Linked DNA regions of Homo sapiens: region 1 is linked to region 2. The links are contacts of gene promoters, found by promoter capture Hi-C in blood cells and fetal thymus (Javierre and others, 2016). All regions are on one chromosome and are shown on one strand. The core of a region is centred on a gene start or on the middle of the fragment in contact, and the rest is flanking DNA. Distances in the headings are between cores, read along the strand shown. Region 1 has its middle 64 kb from the start of LINC00501. Region 2 holds the start of FNDC3B (fibronectin type III domain containing 3B).

The links. Contacts are between HindIII fragments. The CHiCAGO score rates a contact against its expected background, and 5 or more counts as called.
Region 1: a contact is called between a fragment that was not itself captured here and the fragment with the promoter of FNDC3B in region 2, in 2 of 17 cell types (naive B cells and total B cells). The highest score is 11.1, in naive B cells.

The regions. Positions count from the first base shown.
Region 1 is chr3:177,357,179-177,359,903 of GRCh38, forward strand. No RefSeq gene overlaps it. Among named protein-coding and RNA genes, the nearest start is that of LINC00501, 64 kb to the left of the region's middle. RefSeq lists enhancers at 937-1,136, 1,257-1,496, 1,383-1,677, 2,351-2,725, 2,703-2,725. The HindIII fragment of the contact is 2,538 bases long and covers 83-2,620 here.
Region 2 is chr3:172,038,108-172,040,831 of GRCh38, forward strand. FNDC3B (fibronectin type III domain containing 3B) reads left to right here and starts at 1,471. Exons shown (of 26, transcript NM_022763.4): 1 at 1,471-1,664. RefSeq lists enhancers at 1,291-1,958, 1,959-2,625 and silencers at 1,544-1,723, 1,864-1,963, 2,144-2,393, 2,454-2,724. The HindIII fragment of the contact is 7,479 bases long and covers 1-2,724 here.

The DNA of each region.
Region 1 (2,725 bases), core at 102-2,601, 5.3 Mb after region 2:
AGATAAAATGCTGCTGAGAGACAGCAAGGGGTGCAGACTGAGAAATCATTAGTCTTAGCACTTACTCTTCCATAACCCTCAAAGCTTGTCTAACAGTGATTCTTTTCTGCCTTTCTCCTTCATTATATGATAAATTGCTAGAGGGTTTAGACCTCCTTTTAAATTCACCTTTATCTCTCTGGGCTCAACAGGGTGCCTTAGGAACAGGGTAGACTGCACAGTTCCTGACTGAAAATAACACTGGCAAGGAAACACCCCAAGGTGCTATCAGCTGCCAGATGCCAGAAGGAAATGGAAGGGCCTGGACTGCTCCCTAAAGAGCCTGACCCAGAAGCGGTGTGTAACAGGTTCCACTCAATGCCTTATAGGCTGAAAATTGCTCTGTCTTCTCAGAGCTAGAAAGGGTGTTCAGATAAGGCAGGGTGGGACCCTGACTCATGGACACACAATTAGCCGGCTTTTGTCTTTGAATCTGACTGGAAGTGACTCATGAGCTGGAAAAAAACCCTTTGGAAACAAATGAAGGGGGAAAAAAGGAGGGTAAGCCACGACTGCATTTTACTCTGTTAAAATGCAGATCTGCTGTCCTATAAATGTAGAATACTGTACATTTCCTCAGCCTCCCTCCAACAAAGACCCAGGGGAAATTATTAAGCCTGACAATTCACTCATTTTCTCCAAGATTTTTATTAAATGCAATTTAGAGGGGATAAAGTTTCTTCTCTTTTCTCTTTCTATTCACTTGAATAAGCCCTAATTACCACTAGGGTACAATAAATGGGCTTCTAGAAGTCTGTGGCAATTGGCGATGCTTCCCCTTTAAATTAACCAGTTGAAGCCTCCAGTTTCAACAGCCACCAGGGCACTTCCCGTCCACTCACAACTTGCTCAGTGCAATCTGAAGAGCATTTATTGAGCACCTTGTTATGGGGCACTGACATATGCTGCGGAGGATAGAAGACTTCTCGGGGGGTTATAATGGGGCTGGGGAGCTCTTGAACTCAACTGACATACTGTGTAAGTTAAACTAGTAAATGCCATGGGATTTTTGGATTAGAAGCAACAAAAACACAAACTAGGTTAAACAATAAGAATTTGTGGCAAAAAATAATGGGCTGTCGCAAGGAATCGGGGGCAGGCAGGGCTGTACCAGGGACACAGGAACCGATGCTGCCAATAACATTAGACTCCTGTTGGCCTCAGCGCTCTCTCCCAGCCTGTCTGGCTGTGGCTGAGGCTCTATCTTTGTTTTCTGCTCGATCTTTATCTCTGTTTCTGCCTTCAGATTGGCCTTGCCTCTCCTCTCCTGACCATGGGAAACATGGTCATGTATGTTATAATATCTTGCAGTTTTAGCCCTGGGGAGAAACTGACTTTTTCACTTCCAGTTTCAAAATTTCCCAAGAAGGCTTTTGATTGGATTCAAATATGTCAGCTCTTCCCGCTGGGACCAATCCCCTGTGGCAAGGTGGGGGAGGGAAATTTGAGAAGGGCCGTGAATGGTCCAGCTTAGGTCAGAGGTACAGTTTCCACGTCCCCACCCCCACCCCCGCCCCGTCAACAAAACAGCTCTGCCCTGTAAGCCTGTGGGTGTGGGTGAAGGTGGAAGTGGGTCGGAAGAGGCTGCGGGCTCCACTTTGCCAGGAGTGTAGGGGGAAGGGCTGAGTTGAGGAAACAATGGGTCTAGCACTTCTGCTGACCTTGTTTTCAGAAACAACCACAGGGCCTCTGGCCCCAGTGGAACTTGACTCATAAAGGCGAGAGACTTGACTATTGAAAAAGGTCTCCTATGAAATCTGAATTTCACTTAATCCTCAGAACAACTGTTGAGGGGGTTGTTACTACTCCCATTTTAAGACGCGGGCTGTAGAGAGGGTAACCACCCTGTCCACATTCACACAGCGAACACGTGGTGGGGCAGGGCTCAAGTCCAGGCGATTCCAAAGTCCCCCCGTGCTGTTTGCGCCACGCGGTGCTCCCACCAAGCCCACTCCGCGGGGAGAAAAACCATAGGCCTCGGAGGAGGAGCGGCTCCTCGCAGTGGGGTGGGGCAGAGGCCAGCATGAGGCCTTGTTCACTGGAGGATTCCACAGGCCTGGAACGGAAAGAATGAGAGCTCTGCAGGCAGGCAGAGCCCAGGGCGCCCAGTGCCCCCAGGCTGCGACAGCCAAGTCGGTGGGCGCGCATGGCGGGGCTTGAAGGAAAGGTCCAGAGCCGGTGGGAAAGGCCACGCCCCGGGGTAGAGCGCTTCCTTCCAGATCCCGGCCTTTAACTGCAATTCCGTTTTAAGGGCAACCCTGCCCGGTTCACACCTAGCCTTGAAGATGACAGATTGCACTGTGAGCAATTTGCAGGGTGAGAACGGGAGCCTACGACTCCGCACCTGCACTGCCAGAGCCATAAATGCAGCAAATCATGGCCTATAAAATGTCACCACTGCTGAAGTGCAATTTTCCAGGGGTCTTCTGCAGAGGGAACTCCACCACGGAGAGCGACCCTCGGCTCTGCAGCCTAAGAGGAAGGCCCCTGCAGGGTGGGGGAGGGAACAGGGAGGTCTTCCTCCCCATCCCCTTCGTGCCACTGCTCCCCCCTTTGTGACCCCACTCTGCCACGTGGTAAAAGCTTCCGGGGGGAGGCATTAGTTATTTCTGTCTGAGGAGTTTTTGACCAAACGTAAACATCAGAGGAGCGGGAACCCGAGCCCCGCCTGGGCTGGGCGGCAGCG
Region 2 (2,724 bases), core at 221-2,720:
AGAAGTATGTTTCAGAGGGAAGGCACGTACAAAGGGACACAGGTACCTTCTGGAGCCATGAGTGATCAGCTGGGCTGAAGGCATGGCACCTGAGGAAGCCAAAGAGTCTGGAGCCAGAGAAGGCATTTGGACTCAAATGGGATCTATTGGATTGTACCCTATTGGCACTAAGGAACTACTGCCTACCCCCCGCCCCGGCTTCTCATGCAGGACTATGACCTAGAATTGGAGTTATGTTATAGAAAGATGGCTTCAAGTTCCCCTTTGAGGAGCTCCACAGTAAATAAGCCATTTAGGAGAGAGGTCCCCATTTCTCTGGACTCACCATTGCCTCCAAAAAAAAAAAAAAAAGGCTAAAATCTCCCCAAAAGAATGGCAAATGAACAAGGGAAGGAAGGAGCTATTTCTTAGTGTTCTTTAGACTTTAACAGAGTATTATGTACTGCTATTATTATTTTTTAGGTTAACAAAAGTAATACATTGTCTCTAGTGACTCCCTGAATGCTCCTTTGTAGCTTAATAGTTGAGGCTGAATGTAGCTATTCAGAATACCTGGACAGCTATGGATGGAAGGGGCTTCTCTAGGCTAACTTTTGCTCTCTTGTCTCCTGAATAATCTGAGGGGTGGCATGGGATGCAGTCTGTTAACCTCTTAGAGCCTGTACAACAGAAATACATTACATTTGACTTAATATGAACTCAACAGTTATTTAATGAGTCCTATTGTGGTCCTTGCACTGTGCTATATTTTACGGATATAAAGATAAAAGTAAGAAACAGTCTTTGTCCCTGAGAAACGCATTGTGAAATAAGGCTGGGTGAGTTGGCTCACGCCTGTAATCTCAACACTTTGGGAGGCCAAGGCGGGAGAATCACTTGAGCGACAGAGTTCCAGACCAGCCTGGGCAACCTATTGAGACCCCCTCTCTTCCAAAAAAGGAAAAAAAAAAAAAAAAAAAAAGGGTGCGGTGGCTCATGCCTGCCCCGTGCCTGCAGTCCCCAAAACAAACAACAACAACAACAAAAAACAAAAAACAAAAAGAAAGAGGAAAGAGAGATTTTAACTTAAGTATAATAAAAATTGCTCATACTATGTTAGTTGTATGAATAAAATGCTGTGGGAAATGTGGGAGTAATATAGCTCACAAGGTTGCTGTGGGGGTTAACAACAACAAAAAGCGAAATATATGTGTAAATGAAAAAAAGTCAGTTTTAGGCTTAATTATCACTGAGTAAACATTGCCTTTATATTACTTTGGCGATCTGCAGAACGCGCAGCCCTCGCCATTCAGGAGTTGTTAGTTCCCTAAGCCTCAGGTTTCTTTAGTCTGGCTGAACCAAAAGGAGTTTCTGCTTAGCTAGGCAGGGCCGGGGGACAACAGCTTCTGCGAGTCTGCGATTGTGGCGGCCGGTATATTCGGCGGTTTACGGTAATGGGCGGGCCCCAAATCCCCATGTGGTCCCGACATCATTGACATGGCGGAATCCCCCATCAAACCCTCCTGGTAGTTATTTGAGCGGCGGCGGCGGCGGCTGGAGGAGGAGAGCGGCGGCGGCGGGAGCAGCGAAGGGGGCGGCAGGGATCCTCCAGGCTGCCGGCTGGGAAGGCGTGGGCGACCCGGTGTGTGGCGCGCCCAGAGCCCCGCGTTTCAGCCCTAGGGAAGGTAAGGCGTGCAAGAGCCGGGGACTAGAGGAGACCGGGACCCCGAGCGCGATCGCCGGGTCCCGGTGCACTGGAAAGCCCCGGCCTGACGCCGAGTCCGCCAAAGTGCGTCCCTGTCCCGGGAGCGCCCTGGGCTTCCCGGCAAAAACTTGGCGCCGGAGTGCTGGGGCGCCCCGTGCTCGCCTGGGCACCCCGGGAACACGGGACCCGGGAGGGGGCGGCCCCCGCCTTGCTGGGCTGGGGTCCCCCGCCTGTGCCCCCTGCCTCAGGGTTTGGAGGAGTGAAAGAAACGGGTAGATTCCTCTTAAAAAAAATTGGGCAGTGGCTCGCGGCCTCCCCCCACCCCCAGCCTTCCCAGCAGATTTTGTCCGAGGAATCCGCTCCCCCTCCCGGAATCTCCGCGGCAGGAACGCTGCCCAGGAGGGGGAGGGCGGGCGGCGAGGCCGAGGAATCTTCGACGTGTCACTTTCTGAGGCTGTAGATTTCCATATGGTGGAGGGAAGAGGGCGGGAGTGCGAAGTGGGGCTGGAAGTTGGGGCCGCCTCTCCGCGCCGGCGGGGGCGGTCGGGGGCCTCGAACCCGGGGATGCTCGCGGGGAGGGTCCCGAGCCCGCGCCGGCCTGGCCCCCCCGTCCCCGGCTGGGCCTCTCCGGGACACTCCCCGCCCCGCTGCTGGCCACCTCCGAGCACGCCACGTCCTCCTCCCCGTCCTGCCCCCCGGGCTCCCCCCGGGCTGGGGGCGGTAACCGGCGGCCGCGGCCGGACTTGGCGAGCCGGCGGCTGGAAGCTCGGGCGGGGGAGCGGGGCGCGGCGGGAAGGAGCGGGCGACCCGGTGTGTGGGCCAGCGGAGCTCCGGTCAGTCGGTCACCCCGAGGGGCGCCTCGGCCGGGGATAGGGCGGGCGGGCGGAATCTGCGCCCCGAGGCGGCCAGGAGGGGCCGCGCGGACCGTCTGGTGCCCGCGGCTGGGCTGGGGCCGGCAGGCGTGGGAAGGGCCTGTCACTCTCGGCAGAAAGTGGGGCCTCGGGCTGTGCCCGCGAACTTTCCCAGAGGTCCGGGTCCCG